Linked DNA regions of Homo sapiens: region 2 is linked to region 1. The links are contacts of gene promoters, found by promoter capture Hi-C in blood cells and fetal thymus (Javierre and others, 2016). All regions are on one chromosome and are shown on one strand. Each heading gives the region's core, a stretch centred on a gene start or on the middle of the fragment in contact. The rest is flanking DNA. Distances are from core to core; before and after follow the strand shown. Region 1 overlaps MAB21L3 (mab-21 like 3). Region 2 holds the start of IGSF3 (immunoglobulin superfamily member 3).

Region 1 (4,452 bases), core at 796-3,295:
GGAAACACATCTGTGTCTGTTCACCTTTGTGCCTGCAGAGGTTGAGCCCACAGCAGGTACTGGGGCAGGCCTCTGGCCCAGAGTAATCTCAATAAACACTTGCTGAATGAGTGAGTGAAGGCATGAATGAATGTGTACTGTTGGGTTTAGGGCAAGGAGAGGCAGGGGCTGGCAGAGCAAGGGAAGATCCTTGCCTGGTGATTTGGACCCTGGAAAGAAGTGTGTGGCACTACGTGTGTGGTAACCTCTGTGTTGCATTTCCTGGTCCCCTCTGTGTTAGTGGGTCTGTGTGCATGAGGAGGTGTGCGTAGGCTGCAGTGGGTTTAAAGACTGGCGCAAACATAAAGCCATCAAAGTGTGAGGCACAAACCACATTTTGTGATTCATTTCTGAACCTCAGCAGGGTTTCTGGCACCTAGTGAGCACTCAGGTTGGTTTGGTGGGTAAAATAAAAGTGAGAGGGGAGGAAAAGTGGGATAGAAGAGAATTGGAAAAGGGAAGGGAGGGAGGAAATTTTACCCTGGGCAGGGGTGTTGTGGACTCCCATATGGTGCTAGTTTACATATTTCCATAATACGTAGTAATTTGTTGGATGGCAAATATAGATACTAGAACCTCATCCTGAATTTTTCACACATGCTACCCCTTCTGAGTGGCTCTGGCCAGGCCCTACAGAGGCCACAGGAAGAATGACCTATCCAAAGCTGCCCCTGGGTCTTCTCCAACCTGCCCCACACTCACCTGCAGATGGTGGGACGTGATAACCGGCCTGTTCCCTGGGCACCAGATGTCCTCCTTCAGGTGCCTCATGACCTGAAAACACTTCCTACGGCAGCCCCCATCTTCATCCAGCTGTTCCAGTAACACCTGCTCAGCACGGAGGAAGCTCAGCTGCCAGTGATAATTTGAACAGGCCAACAAGTTAAATCCAAACGACTGGAAGAAAGAGAAAAATATTGGGAAATAAGAAGAACAATGCTCACTGGTGTAGAAAGCCATTTCTGAAGCAGTCTGCTGGTCTGGGGAACTTGTCACCAGGCAGACAGCACATCCTACGTGGGGATGAGAAGGGGGTGCCAGGGAGACCACAAGCCACCTTGGATGTGGACAGTTAGAAGATGGTGCCCACTTCCTCTCCTACAGCAGTTCTCCAACTTGAGCATACATCAGAATCACATCACCCAGAGGGCTTCTTAAAACACAGATTGCTGGGCCCTGTTCACAGGGTCTCATTCAGCAGGTCCAGAGTGGGGGCTCGGGAAGCTGCATTTCTAACAAGTTCTCAGGTGACGCTGCTGCAGGGCCCACACTTTGAGAACTGCTGATCTAGTAACACCTCAACTTTCCTTCGGAAACTCATTGGCAGTCAGTAATGCTGTGACTGGTTAAGCTGTTGGCATCACTGCTCTGGCAAGCTGGGTCCCGCCCACTGATACCTTGATGCACTCCACTCTCTCTTGGGAAGGCCAGCGCTGCAGACATCGAGGCCACCGGGCTTTCTTGGACCAGGTGGTGGGGATCTCCACTGCGGGGACCAGCTCCAGTTCCACCTGATATGCAGATGTTTCCACAGCAACCCAAACTGCAGAGCGGTTTCCTAGCAGGCTGACCTTACCTGGTGGGAAATGACCAAATGGATAAGGAGAAGAGAAAGGTTTGCACATTACAAGCGTTCAAACAAGAAATTTGTGAGCAGTTGCTCTGACCAGCACCTTGCAACTGGTGTGGCAACTTTCACAATGTCTGTAGCACGTGAAGGATCACAATGCCTGTAGCACGTCAAGGTTTTGACATCAAAACCAGATGGTTAGTCAGCTAGCCAGCATCGGAACATTACTAAGAAGTCTCATTGCTGGTGAGTTTTTCTTTCTCCCCCAACCCCAAGGCATTTGGGGTACCTTTTCTTTTAAATTAATAGATTCTTTTCAGGAGGATCAACTGAAAGTAAAAGCCATAGAATAAAAAGAAAAAGTGTAGTATAGATGCTCCTTGACTTACGATGAGGTCACATCCTGATGAAGCTGAAAATATTCTAAGTTGAAAATGTATTAATACACCGAACCTACCAAACATCATAGCTTAGCCTACCCTACCTTAAAAGTGCTCAGAACACTTACATTAACTTACAGTTGGGCAAAATCATCTAACACAAAGCCTATTTTATAATAAAGTGTTGAATATCTCATGGAATTCATTGAATGGTTGTATGGGTACTCGAAGTATGGGTTCTACTAAACATGTATCACTTTCGCACCCTTGTAAAGTAAAAAAATCATATGTTGAGCCATGGCAAGTTGGGGAACTTCTGTATTTGCTACTGTAAAAATGAAACCTAACTATTTTTCTATATCCTTCTCCATTCCACCCAAATATCTAAATGTTGGTTTTCAGAGTAATGCAAACATAGGGAAGGCTAATGCCATTTTTTTTCCCTCTTCACCTAGATATTCTGACACTGGTTAGGGACAGCATCAGCCTCCTTATTTATGCATATGCCTTTGGTGAAATTTGGCTTCACCTTTCTTTTATCTGAGCCTCAGTCTCTTAGATGGTATTTGTTTTTACCATCCATTCAGCCAGCCGAGCCTCAGAGGTATCTATCATCAGAAACCCCTGTAACCACAAAATACATCAAAGCACGTCACAGCCACTGTTTCAGAGGATTGAGTGATTTGAAAGAAGTCTCCATTGCCTCGTTTTCCAACCAGGCAAAGAGAAGAAGAGAAAACTAACGCATCTAGTAGTTTTCCAGCTCACATACTATAATTTCCTCATTTCCAATTTGCTCCTTCTTCTTTCAAAAGGTACAGTTTTTGTTTGTTTGCCTTCATTGCAGATAAAGATAAGCAGTCTTGAATAGATCAGGATCTATTCATCCTTATTTGCTCATCCCAATTCTTGAAATAGATTGGAATCTATTATTTTGCATTTCCTTGCACAGAGAAGAAAATGGAAGCACATTAATTGTGTTAGGCTGTTCAAAAGGGAAACATTCCCTGGCCAGGGTGGGATAAAGGGCTTGTCTGCATCTCATCAGAGCTGCCCAGACAGGAACATGACAACTGGCACTTTAGCATTATTTACTAAAAGCGCCTCATAAACCTTGCCCATTCTGAATCTCTGCTTTGCACTTTCACCATGAATAATGTCGCACAGCATAAGAGGTGAGCCGATGCTGCAGCCAGCCTGCCGGCCCACACCCTGCCGGCCCACACCCTGCCCTGCAGCTGGCTCTGCTTATGAGGTGTGTGAACTTCAGAAGTGACTTAATCTCTCTAAGTCTCAGTTTCCTCATCTCTAAAACAGGTAGGAAAAGAATTCTTACTGTATTGTGTGGTTATGAGGATTAAATTAAATAACCCATGAAACTTATTCTACTTAGTAAAAAAATCTATTAAACATAAACTATTACCATTATGGAAATTTTCAGAACTATTCTGTCTAGACAAACAAATGTATGTATGAATACATCCTTTTATTTTCACACAGATGGAATCTCATATTGTTTAGCAGTTTGGTTTTTCACTTAACTATTTAGCACATGCATTTTTCATAGCTCTGTATGTATGCATGGGCATATGCCTGTTCTTTTTAAAGGCTGCATAGTAGTCCAGTAGGCAGAGATAGCATAATTTAATTTAGCCAATTTTCCTTTGTTAGCCATTTAGATTACTTCTAGCTATTTACTATTATAAAACCTATGGCAGAGAATATCCTGGTGCACAATTCTTTGTGTATTTGTAGAAATATATTTCTAGAACTGGAATTGTTGAATTGTCAAGTAAGCACATTATAAAAATAAAATATAGACAACTTGCCCTTTAAAAAGGAGACACCAATTTACACTTCTAATAACAACATGAGAATACCCATTTCACCATGCCCACTCGACACTAAGCATGATCAAACTTTTCATTTCTTTTAGCTTGCTAGGTATTTTAATGCACCCAACATTAGGTATATTCTAATATACGTTGAAATATACATTAGATGGAATGCCTTTTCTTATTTTTGCAAGCCATTTGTATTCTTTTTCTGTGATTCCTTTTTTTTTTTTGGTAATTATCTCTATTGGTCAGCTCATCTTTTTTCTTATTGATTTATAAATTAAGAAAATTAGCCATTTCTTTCCAGTTTGAAATTCACCTTTTCGCTTTGTGTGAACAAAAAGGGAGTGTGTGTGTGTGTGTATGTGTGTGTGTGTGTGTGTATGCATATGCTGTACAGTAGCTTAAGACTTTGGAGTTGTCAAACTTAGTCAGTTCTTTATGGCTCCTGGATTTTGTGCTTTGGTACAAGTTAGTGGTTTCCAAATGTGGAATCTCAGCACCCTGTGGTACTGCAGTCAGATGGAGGTGCTGCAGTAGAAATGTGCTAATAAAGAAGACCTGGGGTTTGTGAATAATTTGCTTTTTTAAAAAACAATACGCTTAAGTTTTTAAGCCTGGTTAA
Region 2 (4,452 bases), core at 1,953-4,452, 540 kb before region 1:
GTTGGTCAGGCTGGTCTTGAACTCCCAATCTCAGGTGATCTGCCCACCTCAGCTACCCAAAGTGCTGGGATTATAGGGGTGAGCCACTGTACCCAGCCTCCAATTCACTTCTCTGCCTGCTGATGAACTCCTGAAGGGGCCACCATCACATCACTGTTCAGGACTCATTTAATCGTTTCTATGTCTGGAGGGCAGAGGCATTCTTTTAAATTATACTTTTGTCTCCCCATCCAACACTTTGCACAGTTCTTTGCATATCGTAGATGTGGAAATTAGAAAGAATGCCATGCTGGGAATCAGCCATAACACATCTGGGTGGTGATGGAAGTCAAGGGTTGAAAGATCATCCAGAAGGATGCAAGGGGCCAAGTAGTATGAAGAGGGGCAGGTTGAGATTGAAAGAACGAGTAATAGAGAAGGGATAATTGAGTATAGGGGTTCAAGGATGAAGGCCTAGGCAGAGGCCTCAGAAAGTACAGTCTTGCACCTTGATGGGGGTACACCTTGGTGGGGGTCAGAGAGTTCCAAAGCAGGCTGAGATGCCCCTTCTGGAAGATTCCTTGACTCTTCTCTTTCTCTCCCCCTCCATATTCAGTTCTTCAGAGAATTTCATTGACTCTGCTTTCTAAATGCTTTCAGACTCCACCCATTTCCACAACCTGCATCAGCACCACCCTAGTTTAAGCTGTGATCATCTCTCACCTGCGCAATGGAAAGAACCTCCCATCCAGTGTCCCTTGTCCACCCCTACCATCTGATGCTCTATTCTTACCCAGCAGCCAGAGTGAGCCAAGCTCCTCAGGTTAGAAGGTCCTACTAGATTTGGCCTCTTTGACCTCTCTGATCACATTCCTCCTTCTCCTTCTGTTTTATGCCATTTCAGACACACTAACACACCTTTAATTTTCTGAACATGTTATGGGGCTTTGCACTTGCTGTTCCCTGCACTTGGAATCTTCTTACTCCAGAAATCTCCAGCGCTCACACACTCCCTGTAATCAGGTCTCGCTCAAATGTCACTTCCTCTGAGGGGTCTTTTCTGACCACCTCACCTAGCAAAGAGTCCTTCTTCCCACTGGAACCCCCAAACATACACACTATTTCTTTTCCTTTCTGTTTTTTATTTGTTTGTTTGTTTGTTTTGGAGATACTCTCGCTCTGTTGCCCAGGCTGGACTGCAGTGGTGTGATCTCAGCTCGTTGCAACCTCTGCCTCCCAGGTTCAAGCGATTCTCATGCCTCAGCCTCCCAAGTAGCTGGGACCACAAGTGTGCACCACCACGGCTGGCTAATTTTTGTATTTTTTGTAGAGACAGGGTTTCGCCATGTTGGCCAGGCTGGTCTCGAACTCCTGACATCAAGTGATCCCCCTGCCTTGGCCTCCCAAGGTGCTGGGATTATAGGCATGAGCCACTGTGCCCGCCCACACATTTCTATACTCCACTTTTCTTCAGAACACGTTACATTATATTATATACTTGTTTCATTGTCTGTGTTTCCCACCAGAATGTAAGCTTCATGAGAGCAGAGACTTTTCTTAACACGTAGTAGGTGCTCAATAAATAAATGAAGGAGTCTAGCAAATGGGAACTGAGAGCTGCCAGAGTCACGGGTGTCTCTGGGAAAGAGGTAATAATTAACACACAAGGAAAGATTCCTGGTTGGGCACAGTAGCTCATGCCTGTAATCTCTGCACTTTGGGAGGCTGAGGCGGGCAGATCACCAGGTCAGGAGTTCAACACCAGGCTGCCCAACATGGTGAAACACTGTCTCTACTAAAAGTACAAAAATTATCCGGGTGTGGTGGTGCACGCCTGTAGTCCCAGTGACTCAGGAGGCTGAGGCAGGAGAATCACTTGAACCCGGGAGGTGGAGGTTGCAGTGAGACAAGATTACACCACTGCATTCCAGCCTGGGTCACAGAGTGAGAACCTGTCTCTTAAAATAAAATGAAAAATAAAACGTATATCTGATAACCATAGTCCCTTACTCAACACCTTCAGTGGCTTCCCAATGGTCCCAACCCCTTAACACACCATACAATGCCCTCTAGGTTCTGGCACTCGATTTCTTCTCAGCTCATTTCTTGTCACTTCTCTCCTACAGTCAAGTTTGGGCCCAGCAGACTGTCCTGGTCCTCTAACTGGGCTCCTTTCTGGGCCTGCAGAGGTGCTGTTTCTTCAGTCTGCGATTCCTTACCTCCCCTCTGTCTCTTCCTCTGCTGCTGCCTTCTGTTCTTTGGCATTCAACCGAGTTTTCCTTTCCTCTGAGAAGCCTGGGACCTACCCCGACCAAAGCTCCCTCCTCCTTGCCCCTCCCCCAATAACACAGGGTTGGGGTCTCTGCATTTGCTTCCTCAACACTGTACTTTTCTTGTCATGTCTATTTTATGGTCTGTGTCCCCACTAGACTGCAAGTTGCATGAGGGCAGGGCGGTCTATTCTGCTTTGGTCGCCTCGTGACGGTGTCTACCCAGCAAGTTGTGTGTGTTGGGTAAGTAGTGAGAAAACGAAAAAGCACTTGCTTTACAGGGCGGTTGGTCATAAAATAATAATAGCTTATATTTACTGACCACTTGTGATGTATCAGGCACCATTCTAAATGCTTTACAAGTATGTCACAGATTTCTCCCATAACCCTCTTAAGTAAGGGTTATTTCCTCCACATAGCAGATGGGGAAATTGAGGCACAGAGAGGTTAAGTAACTTGCCAAGGGCCACAGCGAGGAAGTGGAGGAACCGGCGTTAGAACCCAGGCTGTTTCCAGAGTCCAAATTCTATCCAAGAGTGAAGTGCAATATGGGGTTCCACTTCGTGAACAGATTCAAGTCTCCAAAGGGCTTTGTTTTTGTTTCCAGGAGGAAGGACGAGCTTCTGTGCCGCCGGCTTCCCAGGTTATGGGTGGCCAGCTGGGCTTTGGGAAGGGCCTGTACATCTCGCCGGCGGCCCCGGAGTCTGGGTGTGAAGCCCTGATTAACTTGCCGGGCTGCTCGGCCCACACGCCAGCCCTGCCCAGGTCCTCCGGTGCCCCGGGCCACCCTCATGCCCCCGCCAGGCCCGGGGCCGGGACTCGCGTCTCCAGGGGCGGGGCCGGGGGCGGGGCCGGGCCTCTCTTCGAGGCCGCCGCCCTGGCCCCGCGCTCGCCTCGCCGAGTGCGGCGGGCCGGGCTGGAGCTGGAGGGGCGGGGACTCGGGAGGGGCCGCAGCGCGGCTGCTGGTGCCGTTGCGGGAGAAGAGGAAGCGGCGCGTCCCCTGAGGCGTGCGCCTGGATGGACTGAAGGACGGTCCGACGCGCGCGGAGGGAGAGGGCCAGGGGCGAGGTCAGGCTCGGCGGGGGCGCGGGCGGCGCCCGGAGGGGGCCCCGGGGAGGGAGGCGGGGAGGCGTGGAGCGGGGAGCGGGGAGCGGGGAGTGGGGAGCGGGCCCGCGCCGGCTGAGCTCCGGGTCGGGCCCGAGACCCCTCCCCTGGCTGGGCGGGCGCGCTGCGAGCGCGCTCCGGCAGCTGAAAGCGGAGCTCCGGACTCCCTTCTTCCCCGGTTTCTTTTCTTTCCAATCAGCGAGATATAAACACCCTGCAAGGTAAAACAATAGCGGGGCCACCTGGGACGCGTCGCGCGCAGAGCTCCCACGGTTGGGGCGGGGGCCGGGAGTCGCGGCCCCACCGCGGAGCCCCTTCCCGATTTGCCCTGGCGGAGGGTGGGGCTACCTGCGGCGCCCGGGCTCGGTAGGAGGTGACGGGAATTCCCAGGAGTGAAGCATTTGGTGGAAGTATTTCAGGAACAATCGGGCTTCCCACTGTTGCCCTGCTCTGGGCAGGGAAACTGAGGCGGAGGGAAAGACAGAGACTTGCCCAAGGTCAGAATGCAGAGGTTGACTGTCCTGGTCCAGGAACCGGACCCAGGTGTCCGGACCAGCTCAGCGCTCAGCCCCAGTGGGTTTTGCAGCTTTGCCTTTGATAAAAATCTCTGTTGTGTTTGTTTTAGAAATCTGCTCGCGCTGGGGTACCGCTTCAGGGCTGCCGAACGCCAACTTGCTTCGTGTGCCCTAGGCAGGCGTGGGGCAGGTGGCGCCTCCGTGACCTACCACCATGGATGGAAACGGACTTTTTGGTGAAGAAACCCAAACGGTTGATGCCAGGCAGGGTGATTTGGCCGTCAAAGGTTTTGACGAAACCTGCCCTGTTCTCTCTGGGGAATCCGAATGAGGGAGATCACAGACACCTTCACTGAGAAGCCAAGGACATTTCTGTATAATCAGTGGATGAAAGGATTTTCTCAGACCCTTTTTTCCGTGCTTCTGGAGGATTAATCCACTACAGTCTGCAATTTCAGTGGAAACTGCAAGGCACACGATGTGGCAGGAGCCGGGAGCGACTTCCGAATTGTTGTGGACCCTTCCTGTAGCATAGGGGAGTTTTCACACTTGCCTCCACTCCTCCCCTTCCCCCCAACTCCCTC

Evidence for each region. Contacts are between HindIII fragments. The CHiCAGO score rates a contact against its expected background, and 5 or more counts as called.
Region 2: the fragment with the promoter of IGSF3 here is called in contact with a fragment that was not itself captured in region 1 in 1 of 17 cell types (total B cells); the score reaches 5.1 in total B cells.

What each region holds. Positions count from the first base shown.
Region 1 is chr1:116,124,629-116,129,080 of GRCh38, reverse strand. It overlaps MAB21L3 (mab-21 like 3), which reads right to left. Exons shown (of 8, transcript NM_152367.3): 6 at 1,437-1,615; 7 at 742-936. Among named protein-coding and RNA genes, the nearest start is that of MAB21L3, 15 kb to the right of the region's middle. The HindIII fragment of the contact is 7,397 bases long and covers 1-4,452 here.
Region 2 is chr1:116,666,483-116,670,934 of GRCh38, reverse strand. It overlaps IGSF3 (immunoglobulin superfamily member 3), which reads left to right and starts at 3,202. Exons shown (of 11, transcript NM_001007237.3): 1 at 3,202-3,317; 2 at 3,979-4,452. RefSeq lists a silencer at 2,968-3,357. The HindIII fragment of the contact is 3,697 bases long and covers 1,516-4,452 here.